Regions from separate parts of the Homo sapiens genome. Here all the other regions are linked to region 1. The links are contacts of gene promoters, found by promoter capture Hi-C in blood cells and fetal thymus (Javierre and others, 2016). All regions are on one chromosome and are shown on one strand. The core of a region is centred on a gene start or on the middle of the fragment in contact, and the rest is flanking DNA. Distances in the headings are between cores, read along the strand shown. Region 1 holds the start of LMOD3 (leiomodin 3). Region 2 has its middle 77 kb from the start of FRMD4B. Region 3 has its middle 59 kb from the start of FRMD4B. Region 4 has its middle 17 kb from the start of FRMD4B. Region 5 overlaps FRMD4B (FERM domain containing 4B).

What was found. Contacts are between HindIII fragments. The CHiCAGO score rates a contact against its expected background, and 5 or more counts as called.
Region 2: a fragment that was not itself captured here is called in contact with the fragment with the promoter of LMOD3 in region 1 in 1 of 17 cell types (activated CD4 T cells); the score reaches 5.6 in activated CD4 T cells.
Region 3: a fragment that was not itself captured here is called in contact with the fragment with the promoter of LMOD3 in region 1 in 4 of 17 cell types (fetal thymus, activated CD4 T cells, endothelial precursors and 1 more); the score reaches 10.7 in fetal thymus.
Region 4: a contact is called between a fragment that was not itself captured here and the fragment with the promoter of LMOD3 in region 1, in 5 of 17 cell types (activated CD4 T cells, fetal thymus, neutrophils and 2 more). The highest score is 14.9, in activated CD4 T cells.
Region 5: a contact is called between a fragment that was not itself captured here and the fragment with the promoter of LMOD3 in region 1, in 3 of 17 cell types (neutrophils, fetal thymus and activated CD4 T cells). The highest score is 6.9, in neutrophils.

Annotation. Positions count from the first base shown.
Region 1 is chr3:69,121,336-69,123,854 of GRCh38, forward strand. LMOD3 (leiomodin 3) reads right to left here and starts at 1,260. Exons shown (of 3, transcript NM_198271.5): 1 at 758-1,260. The coding sequence starts at 1,051. RefSeq lists an enhancer at 115-1,314. The HindIII fragment of the contact is 5,880 bases long and covers 1-2,519 here.
Region 2 is chr3:69,461,891-69,464,409 of GRCh38, forward strand. It overlaps a transcript of FRMD4B not described here. Among named protein-coding and RNA genes, the nearest start is that of FRMD4B, 77 kb to the left of the region's middle. RefSeq lists an enhancer at 544-1,044. The HindIII fragment of the contact is 190 bases long and covers 1,161-1,350 here.
Region 3 is chr3:69,444,165-69,446,683 of GRCh38, forward strand. It overlaps a transcript of FRMD4B not described here. Among named protein-coding and RNA genes, the nearest start is that of FRMD4B, 59 kb to the left of the region's middle. The HindIII fragment of the contact is 3,348 bases long and covers 1-2,519 here.
Region 4 is chr3:69,401,840-69,404,358 of GRCh38, forward strand. It overlaps a transcript of FRMD4B not described here. Among named protein-coding and RNA genes, the nearest start is that of FRMD4B, 17 kb to the left of the region's middle. The HindIII fragment of the contact is 1,121 bases long and covers 697-1,817 here.
Region 5 is chr3:69,383,264-69,385,782 of GRCh38, forward strand. All of the region lies in intron 1 of FRMD4B (FERM domain containing 4B), which reads right to left. Among named protein-coding and RNA genes, the nearest start is that of FRMD4B, 1.6 kb to the right of the region's middle. RefSeq lists an enhancer at 2,292-2,519. The HindIII fragment of the contact is 6,135 bases long and covers 1-2,519 here.

The DNA of each region.
Region 1 (2,519 bases), core at 10-2,509:
TAATTTAACAAGATGTATCTTTGTAAACAGGCATAACCTAAAGAGACTTTACCTAGGAGGCATCTCTGTCCTCTTTTTGTTAAGTCATTTTCAAGTGGAACATAAAAAAAAAAATTATGCTCATGCACAGTAAGTTTGCAGAGTTAACAATTCTAGCTTTCAGGTTTTAGAAAGTGAAGAACTAGCTTCAAAACCACTTAATAGCCATCGATTTCTAAATGTCATCACTGACAGCCAATACATAGTAATAATATAAGACATTTTCTGGTTATTCGACTTGGTTTAATTGCAGGTTGTGTGGCCAGACTTCAGGAGGACTGAAATGTTTGACACTGTGTGCGAAACACTGCGTATGTTTGGATGTGCCAGAGAGACAGAGGCTACAGAGCTGTCATTACTTTCTCAAAGGGGCCTGCAATAAAAAAGAAAGAGAGAGGTAAGGACAACTGCCTCTGGGTTATGAGTTAAGTCACTAAGTATCGTGGCAATAGAACACAGGCTTTCTGACACAGCAAACCCGACAGCAATTTTTAAAAAGAGACATTTGCAAGAAATTACCCAATTTTCCCCTTGTAAATATAAATGTGTTTCAGAAAGTTCCAGTCGGAGTAGGATTAAATATTATGGTTTAATCTAGATATGGCAAAAACAAAGCAGAACCAAACCCTGGAGTCTTGAGAAATCACAGTTACAACAGAGAGACCTAACAGCCCATCCCAGGCAGCCATTTCTCGGTTGTACACAAATCTCTGGTTACCTCGGATTTCACAAAGGTGACAGGAACTCGTTCCTCTTCCAGCATGCGCCTGGATGCCTTTTCCCAATACATATAATCAACAAGAGATTTATGATTGAAGTTTCCTGTCGGTGGCTTGTCAGTTTGATCTTTCTGAATCATTCCCACGGGAAGGCTGGGGTCAGGGGCCATGACTTCCATTTCCGACTGCAGTTCTTTCAGTTCTTCAGCAGACAAGTTGGCCAAGATTTCATCTTCATTAATCTCCTCATCGAGAAGTTCTTCTTGATCTGAATTTCTGCTGTGCTCTGACATTATTTTTTCTAAATATTATTTTACTAGAAAAGAAGAATAATCAAAGATGATTTTTAAAAAGAAGGAAAAAAGCCTCAAGAAGGTCCCCCAGTTAACGAGTGTCCCAAGTTAACACACCCTTGAGATATTTTTTTTTTTTTCCCAGGAACCTCAGTGGTTTGCTGAGCAGCTAGGAGTGATCACAGCTAAGCTCTTGCCGGATCTATATTAAGCAGGGCTTGGCTGGATGGGGTCAATTTATGGAACAACTATGCTGCTCTCTTTTTGGCAACTTGAGTCAGCTGCGCAAATCCATCTGACATTTCAGTACAGCTGCTATGTTTGCCAGAGACTAGCAGAGACTACAGAATCTCTGCAGGAATAAAATTAATTATCTTCCTATATGCCATCATATTGCCATACACAAATTCATGCAGCTCATACATACATACCCCAATACTCCAGGGGATTCCACTTGTTTTTATTTAAATATTAAAGCAACTTACAATATTTCAGAAGGGAAATCCAACCAGCAACCTGAGTTGTTTCTGAAGTAAAGAATTCACTTGAAGGTAGAAATCAAGCTCTTAGGGTCTGCCTCTTCCCTACAAGGTGAGTGTGGAAGCAAATAAAGTGGTGCACAGTGGAACAGAGGTCTTGCTATGTCACTCATCCTCTGTGTAAGCCGAACCTTTGCAAGATGTCCTGTTTGCATCTAGATCCTGTGATCTAACAGATGGGGACAACCAGCACTTGGATTTCCACTATAAGTGAGTTTAATATTTTAAATTATTTGCTTTTCTTATTAAGTATCCATTAAGCCAATATCAATGAAAATGGCTCTAAAGTGAAGTGTTAAAAAAGAAATCCAGACCACTAATATACTAAAAGAAACTATGAGAAGATTTTGTTTTCAAACCCTGAAGGGGCAATATGCAACATTTGTCCAAATTACAAATGCCCATTTCCTTTGACCCAGCAATTCCACTTTGAGAAGTGTATCCTACAGATATACCCCTACATGGGTGAAACAACGTGTGTACAAGGTTACACAATATAGCAAAGTACAAAACAGTGTGTTTTACATGCCATTATTTGTGTGACAAAGGGTACAATAATATATAATATACAAGTTTTATTATATATATATTTAAGACAGGGTCTGGCTCTGTCACCCAGGCTGGAGGGCAGTGCTGCGATCTCAGCTCACTGCAACCTCTGCCTCCCAGGATCAAGCTGGGACCACAGGCATGCACCACTACACCCAGCTAATTGTATTTTTTGTAGAGACAGGGTTTTGCCATATTGCTCAGGCTGGTCTCGAATTTCTGAGTTCAAGCAATCCACCTGCCTCGGTGTCCCAAAGTTCTGGGATTACAGGCGTGAGCCACCGTGCCTGGCTCGTAAATATATTCTTATTCCGAAATATACATTCATTGTACAAGAGTTAGGATAACATAGAAAGGCACAGAACAAAATCTTCCCCTTA
Region 2 (2,519 bases), core at 6-2,505, 340 kb after region 1:
ATAACATGGCATCCTTCCTGTAGGTGAAACAGCCAAAATGATTGCTCCATTTATTTTATACTTAGTAAGAGGCAGGCCTGCTCTGGGGGCCTTCTCTATATTATCCCAATGAATCCTCACAATATTTTGCTTACGGGTGATATCCTGAGGTTGGGTCTTTCAAAAAGCAGATGCTGAGACAAGGAGTCAGGGAGGAGGATTTTTTCTGGGAAATATTACCAGGAAGCATAGGTAGGGAAGTGAGGAATGGAGTCAGGGAAGGGAAGGATGCCAAAACATGGTGTCTTCGTGAACAGTAACCAGAGCCGCAAGTAACCAGAGCTCAGTCTTGCCGGGAACTGTCTGAGAGACTGTGTGAGCATGCCTCAGAATGTTCCCATGGAGGGGCTAGGAGGCCGCAGTTTTATCCTGCAGTTTTACTCCTCATTGGTTGAGGGTCACTCCTGGAAATGTTCCCTCTCTTTCCCTGATGTCTGGCCTGTCCCATAGCAAGAAGCAGTTCACTTCTGTGGCTAGAGAAAGCCCTCAGGTAAAAGACACAAACAGCCTTGTCAGGGTGCATGAGAACTGTCTGAAGACAACTTCTGGGGTAGGCCCAGGGCCACTAACAGCACAGCTACAGGGAGACTGAAGCTTGGTAAGGTTAAGTCACTTGCCCAAAGCTACATAATTGGTGAGTGGTGGAGACAGGATCTTGACTCATGCATTCTGGCTCTGCACAGCTTACCCTTAACCATGCATAGAACTCCCTGTGCCTACACCTGAGTCACTTGTGCATCACCCAATATCTGTGCACTGGCCTTGTTTCTGGCCTGAGAGGCCCTGGCAATGGCTTGCTGTACAGCCAGGTAGCCAAGGCCTCTGCCACAGTCACCAACTGAGGTACTTGTGGCAGGCGATTCCTCCTGGCCTCTCAGGGAAATGACCAATGAACTCTTCTTCCTCTCTCCCCCTGCACTGCTCAGAAGCATAATAATTTCATATGGCTTCTCCCAAGACACCCCTGGAAGACCATGTAGTCAGCTTGTCACAAAGCCAGCTTTCTCATCTATGATGCACTTCCTTGTATTCACCTCCTTGCCCTCCCTGCTCACTCCTTCTTATTCACACTCACACCTGCTTCCCTGGGATTGCACTCCCCAATAAAGTGCTAGTACCCAAGCTTTCATTTTGTAATGGAACATAATCTGCATGCAGTAAGTTTTGACAAATGCCTACACCTATGTGACCCACCCTTGCATCCAGATCTAGAGCAACCATCAGCCCAGGAAGTTTCCTTAGACCCCTCACCAGTCAATCCACTCTTCTCACATTCCTAGGCAACCACTGTTCTGATTTATTTCAGTATCAAGCTTTACCTGTCCTAGAATATCAAATAAATGACAATCGTAGAATCTAACACATACAGTTTTGCCTGGGGGATCTGTTTTCCAGGGAACCTGGGTGAGGACTTACCTCTAACTTGGTATATTTTGAGTTTTTCTCATAATTCTGGTCCATTGAAGTACACATACCATATACCACTTCCAGGGTAGACCAAAATAATTACAAATATTGGTATTTAAAGTTCACGATCAAAACATTTTCATTTAATGAGTGATATTCAAAGCAATGACCTCAGTGCATTATAGATCCTAATTTTTTATCTTCATTATAAGTCTTTAGGATAGCTATTATCTTTGGCTTATAGATTAGGAAACTAAGTCTCCAGTTAGGCTGAGTAGTGACTTGAGATGACACAATGTAATAGAGGCAAGGTTGGGATTTGAGCCAGACTGCATCTGCCTCCAAGTCTTATGCTCTTTCATAAAATACTCTACATATAAGTTATCTGAAGAGAAACTCCCTATTAGTAACCATGACTCTACGGAAATCCATAAGCAAACTTTGGCTCATGATGCATAAAGCTAAAGGGACAAGGAAATTTGCAAAAGGAGGGCTCTCTCTGCACAAAGAAATGACTGCCTCATCTCCTGAGTACAGCTTTGAAAGGCTATTAGAGATCCACCCAGTAGAAAGATTACTGGGTATCACAGAAGATGATTGATCACTTATTCCCACAGCAGGCAGGTTGCTGAAACACTACCCTGGAAGCCAGAGGGAGTAAACTGTGAATAAGTGAAGCCTCACCTTGATCCATTTGGAAAAGTACAGTACACCCTTTACTTAACTCGTACCCATTCAAACATATTTATGGGGCAACTACCACGTGCAGACTCTGCTGCTCTCAATTCTGAGGTTATAGCAGCAACTAAGGCTGACTTTCTGAATAAATGATCAACTGATTTGTATTAAACTTTTGCTTATAGTAATTTAAAATACATGCTGGTAACTTTTTTTGCCCATTAATACCTATCCTGTCAGAAATGGGAAGGGTATGTTGGCCAGGAGGTTTTCTGGTAACAGGACAGAGGTATTTTTTGACCATTTAGAGTGCCTTGGAAATATGCTAGCTTGGCAAGTGAGTGCAGTAGGATAACATAACATTATCAGCGCCCTTACCCATAGACTGTCTGCAG
Region 3 (2,519 bases), core at 13-2,512, 320 kb after region 1:
ACCCTAGCGTCTTTGGGGAGACTGATTTGAGTAACAGCCCCAATCCTTCTGCTTGGCCAGCCTTGCATTAATTAAACTCTTTGTTTACTGCAATAATGCTGTCTCAGTGAATTGGGTTTATCTGTGCAGCGGGCAAGAAGAACACATTTGGGTGATTACAGTATCTGATGCTAATTTCAGGTAGATTTTGTGAAATCAAAATTGAACTGAATTGAATTGAGGACATCCAGTTGGTGTATGAGGAGTTGGAGAACTGACTGCTTAGTGTGGAAAATCCACACATTTGGTATCAGAAGTGTTGTGATTATTGACATAAAGTTGTTTTTTTCTTTCAACCACATAGTTATAAAAGTGCATTCCAGCTCTATCATTTTATGAGACTTCAACATCTCATGGATTTCTGTGTGATTAGGTTACGCCTGACTCTCACCCCATACCTTCCAAATTTTCTAGGAGGAACTTATATCATGTTTGTAATGGAAAAGAAAATAACCAAAACATTTTAAAAGATAACATTTCCCATTATTACTCAAACAGGATTTTCACAAGCTAAGATGATTGCTTCTGTTTCAGTGCTATGTTCACTACTCATCTCCACGAACATAAAGAAACAACAAAATCTCTACACACACTTATCCACCAGATTGTTTTAAACAATTTTCAAACTTGTTTTAATAGGCAAAACTGGCTCTGTAATGCTAAACTAGATGTAAATAGCCCAAGGATCCAATTTCAGCCAAAATCTCATACCACGTGGAGAAATTAAGCAATTCTTAAATATTTAATAATACCCTGTAATTTTTTAGACTCCTGGGCTCCAAAATTTCTGACAAAGTAATTCCTATGCCACAATTAATAAAAATAGACAACCTTCCAAAAAGTCTCGCAAAGCAAAAGTAAACTCCTCCGAGCACTCCCGCTGCGGTCAGAGTGATGCATACAAGTGACATACCCGCCAGAAACGACAGCAGCCAGAAAGGGTTTGGAGCTTGCCCTGAACGGGTGTCTGCTGAAAAGGCTCATAAAAAGAAGGTTGTGATTAGAAGATCATGACATTTCCAGCACCCACTTATTAGCATGTCTGGAGAATCACAGAAGGGGGACGATGCAGTCTTTATAACCAGAGTTCACGTCACAGGATATTTACAAATACTGCTATTCCAGTCTTCGGAGCAATTCGGTCTCTGCTCTAACAGCAGACAAAGAGTGCAGACACCCTAGCCAATCACTCCAGGTGGCCTCCTAAGAAAGATTCCTGCCAAACCTTGGCTGCTCAGGCCATAAACCTGTATATTCTTCCTCCGCATCATCCCACTTCTCATTCATTAAACCCCCTGCTTAAAACTCCTCAGTGACTTCTGATTTTACATAGACTAACACTTAAACTCCAGCTCCTATGTGGATTCCTATCTACCTCTGAAATCTCATTTCATGCCAGTCTTCCCTTCACTCTCAATACACCCCACATTGGCCTCCTTTTCCCACCTTACTGGGTCAAGTCCATTCTCACTGCAGGGACTTGGCACTTGCTGAGTCACTGCTTGGATTGTTATTTCTCTGGATCTTCACATAGCTGGCTCCATCTCATAATTCGAATTCAACTCGCATGACCTTCCCAGATCACTATATCCTAAATAGTATTAAGCTACGTTTGTGTTATTCTCTACTCCTGTTTATTTTCTGTCTGGTCCTGAAATTACACTGTTTATTTGCTTGCTGGCTTTCTTGTCCCACTAGAATTTCACCTCCAAGAGGAGGGAGATATTGCTTTGTCCTGTTCACTGCTACATCCTCGTAGCCTGGGACAATGCACATAGTAGATACTCAGTGACTATTTGTCAAATGAATGTATGTGTTGATTTATTTATTTATTTATTTTCTGAGATGGAGTCTGACTTTGTCACCCAGGCTGGAGTGCAGTGGCGTGATCTTAACTCACTATAACCTCCGCCTCCCAGGATCAAGTGATTCTCCTGCCTCAGCCTCCTGAGTAGCTGGGATTACAGGCATGTACCACCATGCCTGGCTAATTTTTGTATTTTTCGTAGAGACGAGGTTTCCTCATGTTGGTTAAGCTGGTCTCGAACTCCTGACTTAATGATCTGCCCACTTTAGCCTCATAAAGTGCTGGGTTTGCAGGCGTGAGCCACCGTGACTAGCCTACAAATTTTTTTATTTTTTTTCTTGAGATGGAGTCTCAATCTGTCATCCTGGCTGGAGTGCAGTGGTGCGATCTCAGCTCACTGCAACCTCTGCCTCCCTGGTTCAACTGATTCTCCTGCCTCAGCCTCCCTAGTAGCTGAGAATAAAGGCACACACCACCACACCTGGCTAATTTTCACATTTTTAGTAAAGATGAGGTTCCGTTATGTTGGCCAGGCCAGTCTCGAACTCACCTCAGGTGATCAGCCCACCTTGGCCTCTCAAAATGCTGAGATTACAGGCGTGAGTCACCCGCGCCAGGCCATGTGTTATTTTAGATTAAGTTAGAACCCAATTTTCAATGTTCTCCCTCTACT
Region 4 (2,519 bases), core at 7-2,506, 280 kb after region 1:
GTGCCTGGCCGAGAGCACAAACATCTCAGTGTAAGAAGCACAGGGGTCAACAAGAGGAGATACAACCACTGTAATCTATACAGACTTCAGAAAAACTTTTAGTTTAGTAAAAATAAAATGTTTTTCATAATAAATGATTAAATGCAGTAGCCTGTGCGTAGGCAATTCTTGTGGGATCTTATACAGCCTCCTGTCTCAGCATATGTTAATAACACAACTGCAGTGAATTTCCTATTTCTCATGTCTGCCCAACTATTGCAGTCATGGGTGATTATCCAATATCCGTTCTACCCAAAAGGACAGGCCTAGGGCAGGTATGGTAATCCCATCCTCCCTGTCAAGTGATTGGTTTAGGAAAGGGCATGTGATCAGCTTTGCCCATTAAGACCAAAGGGGATATCTACTGAGGGGGCTTCTGGGAAACCTAGCTTAACTCTGGTTGAGCCATCTTGTTGCCACAATGAGGATGAAGCCAATACAGAGAGCTGATTTTTAAACAAGGCAATTACCAAGATGAGAAACTGGAGCCTTCAAGTATTGTGTGTGAGCTGCCCTACCTCAGGATATCTTAACATAATAGATTTCCTTATGACATATGAAATAATATCTTTCCTTATTACCTTATTAACCCAATTAATGTGTGGGTTCTCTCTTACTTTAGGAGATCTTTAATGATATACTTTACACTGGACTGAAAGCTTTGAGAAGGGGAGGATGTTTTGTTTATCTTTGTATCCCAAAACCTAACACAGTATCTCAGATATAGGAGGTGCGTAATTCATATATGTAGGGCTGAATTGAACCAAATATCAAACATAAGATGTACAAAATGAATTTCCCATTGCCTCTAGATCTCGTGGATACCAAATAGCTAAATAAGCAACCCAGATTATAGACAGTATGACATGAGGGTAGGTGAGAATTATTGGCATCAGGAGACAGTGCAATAATTGACCTCAATACATTAGTCAGATTGCACATGACAGACAGTAAATCAAAAAGAATCAGGAATCAATGAGATATACATATGAAAATCACTGGATGGAGAGTGATTGAAAAAGACTCCAGAAGATTATTTTGTTTAAAGGAAGCATAGCCCTGGAATTTCTGTATTATGGTATTAATCATTCAAACACAGAATACGGCAGAGAAGAGAAACAACATTTTATATCTGGAACATCCAGGAGGATATGCCAGCAGTAGCTAGATGTTTGGAGGACCCTGAAGATACTGGGTCTGTGTCCACACTAATAAAACAGAAAGGCTAAATCAGATCCCCTCTACTTCATTTGTAAGAACTGCCTGGATCACAGAGGTGCTTTGAAACTTAGCAAGGGTTCAGGGGCCTCTAATGAACACCCAAATATTCCTCAGAAAAGAAAAAAAATCATTCCTTCCTGATATTCCTTAGAAAAGAAGCTATGTGCAGGCATTGACTTATGGGGTTTCACACCCACCAAGCCATGTTAATGTTCTCAACAACTCAGAAGTATTCTCACTGTCCCCATTTTAAAACTGGCTCAACTGGGCAGTTATTTTCATTAACCAAAGGATTCAATTAATGCTAGATACAAGGAATGCCATGTAACATAGCATTGTAACAGAGGCCTTCTGCTAGCAAAACAACAGGGCTCAGTGACAGGGAAATCTCAGTAAGGAAGAAAGGAACCCTTCCCCCTGAAATGAGTGGGGAAGCTAACCCCATTCCTGCCGTTGCTACTAAACCCTGAGACTATGAAATGTCAGCACTATTCAAACAGTCATAGAAAACTTCACAGAGAGGAGAAACAGGCAAGACAGGTTTTGGAAGTATAGAAAGCTTAAATATACACCTAACGCAATCAGCTTGAAAATAAAAGAGGCATATGGACATTTGAACCTTACAAGTTCAAGTATACTCCACTTATGAAGTATAGTACAGCATTCTCTATCTCTATTCCAAAAGTGTGCATAAGCACGCATGCGTACCCCACTCCCCCCACCTCAACACACACACACACAGGTCTCTCTTTGCACATTTTATTCTAACCAGAATCAGAGACATGTCTATCCCTAAAATATTATTTTGTTAATTTTAGAGACAGGGTCTCTCTTGTCACCCGGGCTCTGGAGTGCAGTGGCACAATTATGCTCACAGCCTTGAATTCCTGGGCTCAAGCAATCTTCCTGCCTCAGCCTCTCAAGTAGCTAGGACTATAGGCATCCAACACCACACCTGGCTGTTTAAAAAAATGTTTTTGTAGAAACAGGTCTCACTATATTGCCCAGGTTGGCCTTGAGCTCTTGGCTTCAAGTGATCCTCTTGTCTCAGCCTCCCAAAGCACTGAGATTACAGGCCTGAACCAATGTGCCTGGTCTCCTAAGAATGTTTTCTTTTGGATTTTCTTGAAGAAAATCGCAAATAGAAAATACAGTGTGAGTGTATTTTTGCCCATAAGATTTCTCTCCAATAACAGAATTCAGAAAAAATAAAATTAAATAAATGCACAGGCTTTCTGATCCAGAGGATTCTTTCATAG
Region 5 (2,519 bases), core at 15-2,514, 260 kb after region 1:
ACTTTTTCACTTAATATTTGAAAAGCATTAAAAAATGATCTTCCTTTGCAAAGGATTATGTTGCACAATTAAGAATATTCAAAGGCTGAAAATATTTTTGAAAATCTTATTTTTGCAAAAGCACAGGAAATATTAAACTTAGAGATCATTTTCTTCTGATTCTGTATTCATAAAAGCCTTTGTTATTTATTTTCATTGATACATATTAGATGTACATAGTTCGGGGGTACATGTGATAATGTGACACATTCATATAATCAAAGCAGGGTTATTGGGATAGCCAATGCTTTAAATATTTTAATTAATTAATTTTTTAGAGGAGGTCTCCCTCTGTCACTTAGGCTGAAGTGCAGTGGGACAATTATGGCTCACTGCAGCATTGAACTCCTGGGCTCAAGTGATCCTCCTGCCTCAACGTCTTGAGCAGAGAGAACCACAGGTTCATGACGCTATACCTGGCTGATTTTTAAATTTTTTGTAGAGATGGGGTCTCACTATGTTGCTCAGACTGGTCTTGAACTCCTGGGCTCAAGTGATCCTCTCACTTCAGCCTCCCAAAATGTTGGGATTACAGGCATGAGCCATGGTGCCCAACCGTTATCTTTTCTTCGTGCTAGAAACATTCAAATTATTCTCTTCTAGTTATTTTGAAATGTACAATTGATTAAAGTTAAAAATAAGGAGTGGGGACTTATTTTTTTTTTATTTTTTATTTTTTTAAGAGATGGGTCTCACTATGTTGCCCGGGCTGGCCTCAAACTCCTGGGCTCAAGGGATCTTCCTGCCTCAGCCTTCTGAGTAGCTGGGATTATAGACACACAGCACACTGCCTGACTACCACCATTATTTTAGATGTTCTTATCAATTATGATATGGTATTGGCTCAGTCACCATCCATTTTAGAGAAAAGAAAAAAATACATATATTTTAGTAGCTCAGTGTCTCAAATTGCTATTCTGCATAAAAATTATCAGTCAACCTTATAAAGAATCCATAAGGTCTCAGGTTTCTGGAATCTTTATTTTTGAATTGGTCAGTAACAGTATTACAGATAAGCCATAAATCCTCTGAATCCTTGGGGAGTGAGGCACAGAGTCACTCTGGTTGGCTACAATATTTGCGTTCCCTTTTTGAAAGTTTCTCAAACACTAAAAAGGAAAAACAAAATTACATAAGGGGCACTTATTCTACAGACCAAACTGAACAGGGATTTCCCAAGAGAGGAAAAAAAAGGCTTGAAAGACAGACACACTTCTGGCTCCAAAAAGCCAGAGAGCTATGTAATGTGGCCAGATGGGATATATCCACAATTCCCTAATACTCTCAAACTCCCACATGCTGCCCTGGTTCCCAACCTGCCTTTCAGATTCCATTTCAAAATGCAAGATATCACAGATATGTTATACAAAGCAGAAGCAGTGAAAGCACAAGTTCAAATGTTCCTCATATTTTAACAAGGGTGACAAGGGGACGCTGACTCTTTAGACTTCCACAGGCTAACCTTAGGTGCTGGCCTTTTCATTTTGCCTGATTGATGGAAGATTATGGTTTGTCAAAATCAAGTGCTTGATCATGTATGAGACACAATATAATAAGACATAAATTCTAGACATATTAGGAACAGGGTCAAATGGGGGGAAATCCAGGAACTGCAACAAAGCTATTCCACATCACAGGAAAGAAAATATGATATTATCTTTCCACAGTAGACACCAAGTATATTTCTAAACAATGCAGATTTTTAAAAATCTCAAATATATTAACAACCAAAGCACAGAACTTTTAAATTCATAAATTACTGTCTAAAAAAAAAAAAAGAAATCCAGGCAAACTGCAGTACCAGAGAGGATGAATGGTCTCCTAGTTGAGCAAAGTTGCTGCATTTTTTGCCTGCAGGATGGGACCGAGCAGAGAAATAAAGGGGCTGTGTTGTGTGACAGGGAGTAAATCCTAACATGAGCATTCCAACGTGTAGCCGGGCCACCCCTCCCTTCCCCAGCCTGTCATCCTCCTGCAAAGTGTTCACAATTTGCTGTCCTTCCTTCCAAAAGCCAGTAGACACAGAATCAGCTTTTCCTGGCTCTGCCTTACAAGTTGGGGCTGCCTGATGGAAAACTGAAAATCCAACGGAAGGATAAAAATCCACCAAGGCCCCCTCTGCCAGCAAATTGGTGTGAAACCGTTGCTTCAGAAGCAGCCACTCCCACCCCCAATGAAATTAAAAAGAAGGACTCATTTGAATGTCTAAGTGGCTTTCTGAAGACCCTCTGTTGCAAAGCAACAGCCTCCCTAGTCAAGCGCCCGCCAGTACACCATTGCTCTGTAACAGATGTCTGCAAACGCTGGGACTATCTCGCAAGTGCCCCCCATGCCCGATTTGAAAAATTCACAAGCTCTGTCAAGCAATAATTACCTAGAGCTGCTGAGCGTTTGACCCAAGGGCCAAGCAGTCTGCTAGGAGTTTAAGAAGAGCTGGGGGGAATAAAATCATACAGGTGGAGCCTGCTTCCCACGAGTGC